3 separate regions of the Homo sapiens genome follow, and regions 2 and 3 are each linked to region 1. Evidence: promoter capture Hi-C in 16 types of primary human blood cells and fetal thymus (Javierre and others, 2016). All regions are on one chromosome and are shown on one strand. Each heading gives the region's core, a stretch centred on a gene start or on the middle of the fragment in contact. The rest is flanking DNA. Distances are from core to core; before and after follow the strand shown. Region 1 holds the start of CHRM3-AS1 (CHRM3 antisense RNA 1). Region 2 overlaps CHRM3 (cholinergic receptor muscarinic 3). Region 3 overlaps CHRM3 (cholinergic receptor muscarinic 3).

The links. The method cuts DNA at HindIII sites, captures the fragments that hold promoters and counts their contacts. A CHiCAGO score of 5 or more calls a contact.
Region 2: a fragment that was not itself captured here is called in contact with the fragment with the promoter of CHRM3-AS1 in region 1 in 5 of 17 cell types (monocytes, M2 macrophages, M0 macrophages and 2 more); the score reaches 16.7 in monocytes.
Region 3: a fragment that was not itself captured here is called in contact with the fragment with the promoter of CHRM3-AS1 in region 1 in 1 of 17 cell types (monocytes); the score reaches 8.1 in monocytes.

The regions. Positions count from the first base shown.
Region 1 is chr1:239,898,492-239,901,375 of GRCh38, forward strand. CHRM3-AS1 (CHRM3 antisense RNA 1) reads right to left here and starts at 1,381. Exons shown (of 2, transcript NR_046582.1): 1 at 1,273-1,381. The region is part of intron 6 of CHRM3 (cholinergic receptor muscarinic 3); the gene reads left to right. The HindIII fragment of the contact is 7,774 bases long and covers 1-2,884 here.
Region 2 is chr1:239,788,555-239,791,438 of GRCh38, forward strand. The region is part of intron 5 of CHRM3 (cholinergic receptor muscarinic 3); the gene reads left to right. Among named protein-coding and RNA genes, the nearest start is that of CHRM3-AS2, 71 kb to the left of the region's middle. The HindIII fragment of the contact is 5,345 bases long and covers 1-2,884 here.
Region 3 is chr1:239,806,580-239,809,463 of GRCh38, forward strand. All of the region lies in intron 5 of CHRM3 (cholinergic receptor muscarinic 3), which reads left to right. Among named protein-coding and RNA genes, the nearest start is that of CHRM3-AS2, 89 kb to the left of the region's middle. The HindIII fragment of the contact is 4,094 bases long and covers 1-2,884 here.

The DNA of each region.
Region 1 (2,884 bases), core at 131-2,630:
TAGGGAAGAGGCACTAAATAGTTGGTCTGAGAAAAAACGCACGGCTGTATGTTGCAAAGATATTTTGGGTTTTTCCCATATCATCACTTAAAAAAATAATTATTATTATAGACGTAGAATTAATTTAGACTTCTAGAAAAATTTATACGCTTTTAATTGGTTCAGCAGGTTTAAAAATCGAGAGCCCTCAAACATTTTTCCCAAGTAGGTACTGCCCGGTTGGCTCAGAGGACATGAAATGAGTTTATCTCCTTGGAATTCATTATAACCAGAAGCCTCACATGTATATTGGCCTTGTCCGTTTCTGTAAGCAATCTCACATGTATTTCACACTGGATATTTACACATTTTTAAATTTTTTAAATTTACCTATATATTTCACAGACTTATAACCCCAGAAAAGTTATTTTTTGCCATAACTAGGGGGAAGAAGGCAAATTTCCTAGAACTAACCTTCAATTTCTCCTAAATTCAGTACTGTCAAACTTTTTTGTCTTTTTTCACATTTTTTGTTTCACCCTCTTCTTTTAAATATTAATAAAAGATGTCAAAATATCCACTGCAGTGGCTTTCCAACATTATTCAACACAAAATACATTGTACGTACATCATGACTATAGACATAATTTTATACGTGTGTGTATGTCGAGCAAAAATTTAATGAAGTGATATTGATTGTCATTATGTGGTATGCATTCTGATACGTCCTATTCAATTTGCTGTACATTTTTTTCTTTTTTAATTCTCATATTGGCCCACTAATTGGCTCTTGCATTTTGAACTCAGTGTGTGTGTGTGTGTGTGTGTGTGTGTGTGTATATACACACACGCATATATATCTATTGAATTTAGTGTGTGTGTATATATACATAAATACATATATACATATATAAACACATATACATATACACACATATACATATATACACACATATCTATACACATGTATGTATATGATATGTATATACATACGTATATATGTGTGTATATATACTCACACACATGTATATATACACACATACCAAGTTCAAAATGCAACAGCCAATTAGCGGACCAATTAGTGTGTGTGTGTAGTGTGTGTGTATATATATAGTAAGTTCAACATGCAATGTATATATACACTAAGTATATGTACATTGTATATAAGTAAGTATACTAAGTACATAGTATATATACACGATATAAGTACACTAAGTATATCGTATATATATACTAAGTATATATACATACACACAGATGTAACTTCCCCACAAAGGCACTGATGGTACCCACGTGCAGGATCTTGCGCAGTTTTCCACTTCTTGCCTGAGCTCTGGTGCCTGGAACACTTCAGTAACCATTCCCTGAATGTTGCACCCACAACCTGGCAGGGAGGGAGCCTGCTCTGACCCCAGAGAGGAGCCAGGCACCTGCCCCTGGTCTGCCCCTATCTGACCATGCCCTGAGCCCTCATGCAGGCTGCATTCCTAGAACTCTTGCCTGGGATTACTTATAAAGTGCGAAGGTCACTGGGCTGACAAGGATCTCTGTTCCCACCACCTGTTTATTCCTGAGCATTACAAGGAAAGACTTCCTGTAGGTCCCCTCACCAATATCATTCAATTCAATGAGTGTAGACTGTGAACTTCCTTGACTCAAAATATCCTAATGCTATGGAATAGCTGTTGAGTCAGGATGAGGAAGGAATATTAAACATAGGAATGATACCTTCTACTCAGAAAATCACCGTAAACTGAGGGCTCTTAGCCCGGGGTTATCACTGCTTCATTTGGGTCTGACCTACAGTCTTGATTCTCAGGAAGTTACATATTACCTATGAAATAATAGATATACCTGAAGTAAAACATTTGGTGACTCTCATTTCTAATAAGTACTTTTAGATATTCTTTTTTTTTTTTTTTTTTGAAATCCTTATGACCGGCTGATCACTTTCTCCTGTTGTCATCCTGGGTACCGATAGGACCTCCGTTGCTGAGCCTCCAGAGAACAGTCCTTTTAATGAGGCCGTGGCCCCAAGGCCTCGGAGAAGTTCATAGAAAATGTCTGAAAGAAGGTGGGAGGGATCTTGTTTCCTGGCCCTATAGGGACATTGTCTTCCTTGATAAAGCTGGGTACAGCCTTGATATGAATAGATTGGGGAGCACCAGGAATGTACCTCACCTGGGCTGTCGAGAAAAGACAGTGTGCTCAGAAGAGGTATGGCAGGTGCTGAATATTCCCTTGGAGGGACGAAGGCAAGAAAGGCCCCTACAGCAATGAGGGGAGAAAATCCACAACCCAAGTAGAACTAGGATTTCTTATGTGTGAGACAATACATTGCTCATTTACATGTAAAGTGTGTATAATATTTTTAATCCATCGTATTCAGGCGAGCAAGATCAGTCATTTCATTTTTGTATAACTTGCCTCGAAGCTGCCTGTTGTGGCCCCATTCTGCATAGCAAATCACCACAAACTTAGCAGCTTACAACAAGGTTCCCTGTTCAGGGTCTCAACACTGAAATCAAGGTGTTCGCCCAGCTGAGTTTACGTCTTAGGCAAGACTAAGGAAGAATTCATTACCACAGGCATTCAGGTCATCGGTGCTTCTGCCATGGTGACCTAGTGACCTCTGAGCAGCTGCCACCTCTGGGCACCAGACAGGAGGGCATGAGGCACGCATCTTCTTTGAGTCTGATCAATATTATCAGATGCGACCTCTTTTTCCTCCAACCTTCTCCGCATTTAAAAGCAACAGCAGAGTGTAAGGCAAGATTCCAAGCCCTCCTTGGCAACCATCACCAATATCTGCCCCCTTTTAACTCTCTTCTTCACTTCCTTCTGGCTTCGGAAACTTTGGGATTTTTTTTTTTTTCCTCATTCGGGACATTACAGATTGAGCTGA
Region 2 (2,884 bases), core at 288-2,787, 110 kb before region 1:
CGGGAGTTCCAGACCAGACTGAGCAACATGGTGAAACCCCATCTCTACTAAAAATGCAAAAATTAGCCAGGCGTGGTGGTAGACACCTGTAATCCTAGCTACTCGGGAGGCTGAGGTAGGAGAATTGCTTGAACCTGGGAGGCAGAGGTTGCAGTGAGCTGAGATGGCACCACTGCACTCCAGCCTGGGCGACAGAGTGAGAATCTGTCTCAAAAACAAAATAAACAAACAAAACAAACAAGTGATAACCCTGAGCGAAAGACTGTAATATACTTTAAATCTACAAAAAATGAAATTTTCATTCAATTGTAAAGTATATTTTATGCCATTTTAATTCTTTGAAAGGATATTTAATGTGTATTAGTTATAGTAATTCTAACTATTATATAACTTACAAACTCTAAAATCCCAGTGGATTAAAACAGCATTATCTTATATTTCGCTTGTGTAAGAGTCCACTTGGGGTCTTCCTGGTCAGGCGTCTTTTCTCTGAGTGATTTGAGGACCATTCCATCCTTTGGCTTCACCATGTTCAAATGTGGTCTCCAAGGTCACACTAAAGGTGTCTTCGTTGCACCCATTCAGAAGAGAAAAGAGCATGTGAGATGTGGTCATTGGAGGGTACTAGACCAGGTTTGAAGTGATGCATATTACGTCTGTCATGTCTCACTGGCCAGTGCTCAAATTATGCCTAATTACAAAGGAGACTGGAAAATGTCATCTAGTTGTATACTCTGGAGGAAGAAAAATTAATTTGGCGAAGATTAAGCAGTCTCTGAACAATAAATAAGCAATATGAAACAGGAATATACTTCTACCATCATTAAGCAGAACACCACTGTCTCAGTGCATTTTGCATTGCTATAAAGGCGTGCCTGAGACTGGGTAATGTATAAAGAAGAAAGGCATATTTGGCTCACAGTTCTGCAGGCTATACAAGAAGTGTGGCACCAACATCTGCTTCTGATGAGGGCCTCAGGCTGCTTCCACTCATGGAGGAAGGTGAAGGGGAGCTGGCATGTGCAGAGATCACATGGAAAGAGAGGAAGCAAGAGAGAGAGTGGGGAGGTGCCAGGCTCCTGTTAGCAACCAGCTCCCTCAGGAACTAAGAGCGAACTTACTCACCATCCCCAACTTCAGGTAGGGCAATAATGTATTCATGAGGGGTCCACCCCTATGACCCAACCACCTCCCATTAGGCCCCACCTCCAACACTGGGGATCAAATTTCAACATGAGGGTTGGAAAGACAAACATCCAAACTTTAGCAACCGCTTTCCCAGCCACACTGGATAAGTGTGGAGTTAGCTCAGTTTTGCAGATTCCTCATTAGTCTTTTGAAGAATAGTTAAGATCAGAGACCTGGATGTGAGACATGGAGTGAAAGGAGATCATTTTGGAGCTTTAAGATTTGACTACCCCACTGGATTTCAGACTTGCATGGGGCCTGTAGCCCCCGTTTGGCGAATTTCTACCATTTGTAACCCGTGTATTTACTCAATACCTGTACCCTAGGTGTATTTACTCAATGCCCGTACCCATTGGATCTAGGAAGTAACTAACTTGCTTTTGATTTTACGGGCTCATAGGCAGAAGGAACTTGTCTTGTCTCACATGAGACTTTGGACTGTGGACTTTCGGGTTAATGCAGAAATGAGCTAAGATTTAGGGGCACAGTTGGAAAGGCATGATTGGTTTTAAAATGTGAGGACATGAGATTTGGGAGGGACCAGGGTAAGAATGATAGGGTTTGGCTGTGTCGCCACCAAATTCTCACCTTGAATTGTAGTAATACCCACACGTCAAGAGTAGGACCAGGTGGAAATAATTTAATCATGGGGGAAGTTTCCCCCAAACTGTTTTCATGGTAGTGAATAAATCTCATGAGATCTGATGGTTTTATAAAGGGGAGTTCCCCTGCACAAGCTCTCTTGCCTGCCACCATGTAAGACATGACTTTGCTCCTCACTCACCTTCCACCATGATTGTGAGGCCTCCCCAGCCATGTAGAACTGTGAGTCAATTAAACCTCTTTTCTTTATAAATTACCCAGTCTTGGGTATGTCTTTATTAGCCACATAAGAACAGACCACTACAATCAGTTTCCCCTGTCTAGCCTGGCAATTGTGGAAACCTAGGCAGAGAATCACAAAGCTGTTAGCAGATCTAAAATTTGAAGAAAAGCTCCCTGACCTCTTTTACAGAATATTAGTTCCTAAACCTCATTAACTTCCTGGAGCACAAATGTGATAGAGCAAGGACTGTGCTTGGGCCTCAAAATATAGCTTTGTGGACATCAGAGTCAATGGCAGGATAAAGTCTCATCTACTCCATAATGTAAAACATGTATAAGTTTGTGAAAAGTACTGTTAAAATGAAAAAGCATGATAAAATTTATTCACAGAAAAACAAGAGAGATTTTATTTTGTTTTTTGTTTTTTTCTGGTAAAATATCACCAAAAAATAGGAAAATATCTGTAGGAGTCGCTCCTGGAGAAAAAAAAAAAAAAACACACAAAACTAGCATGTCCCACAGCTTTTCTTTATTTTTGTTTATTCATTTATTTTTGAGACAGGGTCTCTCACTGTTGCCCATGCTGGAGTGCTGTGATGCAGTCTCGGCTCACTGCAACCTCTGCCTCCCAGGTTCAAGCAATTCTCCTGCCTCAGGCACCTGAGTAGCTGGGATTACAGGCATGCACCACCACATCCAACTGATTTTTGTATTTTTAGTAGAGACAGGGTTTCACCATGTTGGCCAGCCTTGTCTCGAACTCCTGGCTTCAAGCAATCCAACCTTCTTGGCCTCCCAAAGTCCTGGGACTACAGGCGTGAACCACCATGCCCAGCCAGTAAACATTTCTTTAAAAGGGGCATGTTGAGCA
Region 3 (2,884 bases), core at 232-2,731, 92 kb before region 1:
ATAGTTGCAAGTCACGTGGCTGGGAGTGTGGGGATGAGCCATACAGGCAGGGCTTCCTCTTGGAGACGAAAGTTACTGTGTTCGCTTTGAGAAACGCACATATTGTAGATATTGTAGAAAACATACACATACCTGCATGCTATCTCTGCTTTCTAAAAAAGAGGTACATTTTAACTTTTTAATTTCTTTTAGTTGTTCAGAATAGGCAATGCTGGCCAATAAGGAGAAATGCTGGAAGAAGAGATAGAGTATCTGGCAATACTAGGTGTACTTCCATTACCTTTCAAGGCGTAAAATTAATAAACTGTTCACAGAAGAATTCCAAAGAAGCGTACATTCTGTTTTGAGAGTAGTACCTGCCGTCATTCCATAGGCTGCACCCAAGCCAGAGAATATTCTACTTGTTCCTGGCTCCACATGAGTTTTGATGGTGATAATAATGAAAATTTCCATTAATATAATTTCTTTATTTGGGGTTGGTATTAGATGATTGCATCCAAAAGCAAAATGTGATGATTTGACAAATATTTTCTTCTGCAGGTTTTGATTGTGAACACAATAAGAACATAAAAGAAATAAAAGTCCTATTTAGGTGGAAGATTATGTGACTTTTTAAACTTTAAAATGCAGTTTCTTTTTACTTCATTAGAGAAAGAAAAGTAGCTCCAACTCCTTAATACATCATTCTAAATAATTCTTCTTCTGGCCTTTTTATTATTGGATTTTCATTTATAGTACTATGGCAAGAATAATGTTTACAGATTGGCACAACCTGAAAAAGTCACCTTGTTTAAAATTGACCTACCATTTAAATATCATCATTTTGGCAATGAACACCTTCTAAACTTATCCTTCTCAATTGTGGGCATTAAGCCCATAAATAGGAATGCTACAGGGGGAATGAAAGGAGGGGTTACTTCCACCAGAAGAGAAGCCTTGGAGAAGTGAATGGAAAATGTTGCCTCTGTTTAGCATGAATGAGCCTGGGATTTAAATAACATTCTCAGGCCAGATAAATAGTTTTTCTTTGGCTTAGTAATCATGCATTGCATTCAGATATTTAAGTGAAATGTTTCTGGCTTTCCTCACTTCATCTTTGATCTTTACATGCTCTGTTAAATTTTAGCTCATCAACTTAATCACATTAAAAATCTCATTTATACCTTTTAGTATATAGAAGAGAAGCAGATTTGCTGTAAGAAACTGAGAGTACATGTAATTGAGTGTTTTTGCTTTGCGCACACACACACACACACACACACACACATACACACACACACGCACACATATCCCAAAATGCTGGGATATTCCAGAGTGATAAAAGAATTTGCTGCTTGGTGGCTGCATCATAAGTCATTATGATTATCTCATTATTCTTTTCTTCCCTCTGTTTCAAGCTGTTCTGCAATGAATATTCATTAGTTATATAAAACATGAAGTTTTTTAAAGAAACATATTCCAAAATTCCTTGGAATTCTTTATCGGTAATCGTCTGCCTTTTTATTTTTTGAAAAACTGGTTGTTTTGACCCCATATCTGACTAGCCCCAAAGTCCCAGTGTTTTGATGGGAGTTCAAATTCCATGGGAGTTCGAGGAAGACAGCCCTAGAGAAAGCTCTCCAGCTCCCTGTGACAAGTCGTAGCTGAAGTCAGATGTGCAGAAAGGAATTGCAATACTTTTTTTTGTTTATCCTCGTATGTGACCTTCAGGCAGAGTAAATCAGTACAGCTCTGATACCACTCAATAAAATGCTAGGTCATTTTATGGACAGGATTAATCTGCAACAGAGAAGGTGGAGATTCATGTTGGACATACGAACAAAGGGAGACAGAGTTTGCCCTAGAATGACACTGTGGGTAAGGGGACAGCTTCATCCTGCCTTAATTACCTGCTGTGTGAACTGTTTTCACTCCTGTGCGAGTGATCTTTCCCAGCTGTAGTACGAGATCAAATCTAACGGAATAAAGATGAGAGTCTCTTATTTGCCACCTAAAATGCCTAGCGATAGTTTTTGCCATATCGATTGGACCAATTCTTCGTGATAAGCCCTACCGCTTCCTATAACTAGAAGTGGATCATGAAGGAAATGCGAGTGAACCACTGATTTTATTCATAATCTCAGGCTTTTCCTGTACTTTCTGTGATAGCCCTCCAAAGAACTGCCCCAATACTTGCATTTCCTAGAAATACACTGTTTGTGAGAATTAAATCAGCACTCTCTTAGAAAACCCATCAGAAACGACTGCTTGTATTGGTGCAGTGGACAAGCAGTTATTGAAAAGGCCTATTTAGAATACTGCTTTTTCCTACTTGTAAAGTCTTGTCAAGTTCCCACTTAAGCACTGCATGTTACTTTTTACAAAAGGAAGAAATGAAGAAGTTGGTGAGTTGATATTTCCCTCACCCTGTCAAAGTCTGGGTCTTTGACTCTGAAGTCCATTTTTTTTTTTTTTTTTTGAGACAGAGTCTTGCTCTGTCACCCAGGCTGGAGTGCATTGGCGCAATCTCGGCTCACTGCAAGCTCCGCCTCCCGGGTTCACACCATTCTCCTGCCTCAGCCTCCCGAGTAGCTGGGACTACAGGCACCCGCCACCACACCCGGCTAGTTTTTTTGTATTTTTAGTAGAGAAGGGGTTTCACCATGTTAGCCAGGATGGTCTCGATCTCCTGACCACGTGATCCGCCCGCCTCGGCCTCCCAAAGTGCTGGGATTACAGGCGTGAGCCACCGCACCCGGCCTCTGAAGTCTATTTTTAATCCAAAGGCCTTAGAAGGTCAACTTCTGAACCCATAAGATTCCAGCAGTGAACCCAATGTCTGTTCGCCCACTTCCTCATTTTTTTCTTTCCATCTTCCCTCACTGTGTCCCCTTCCTAGGAATGA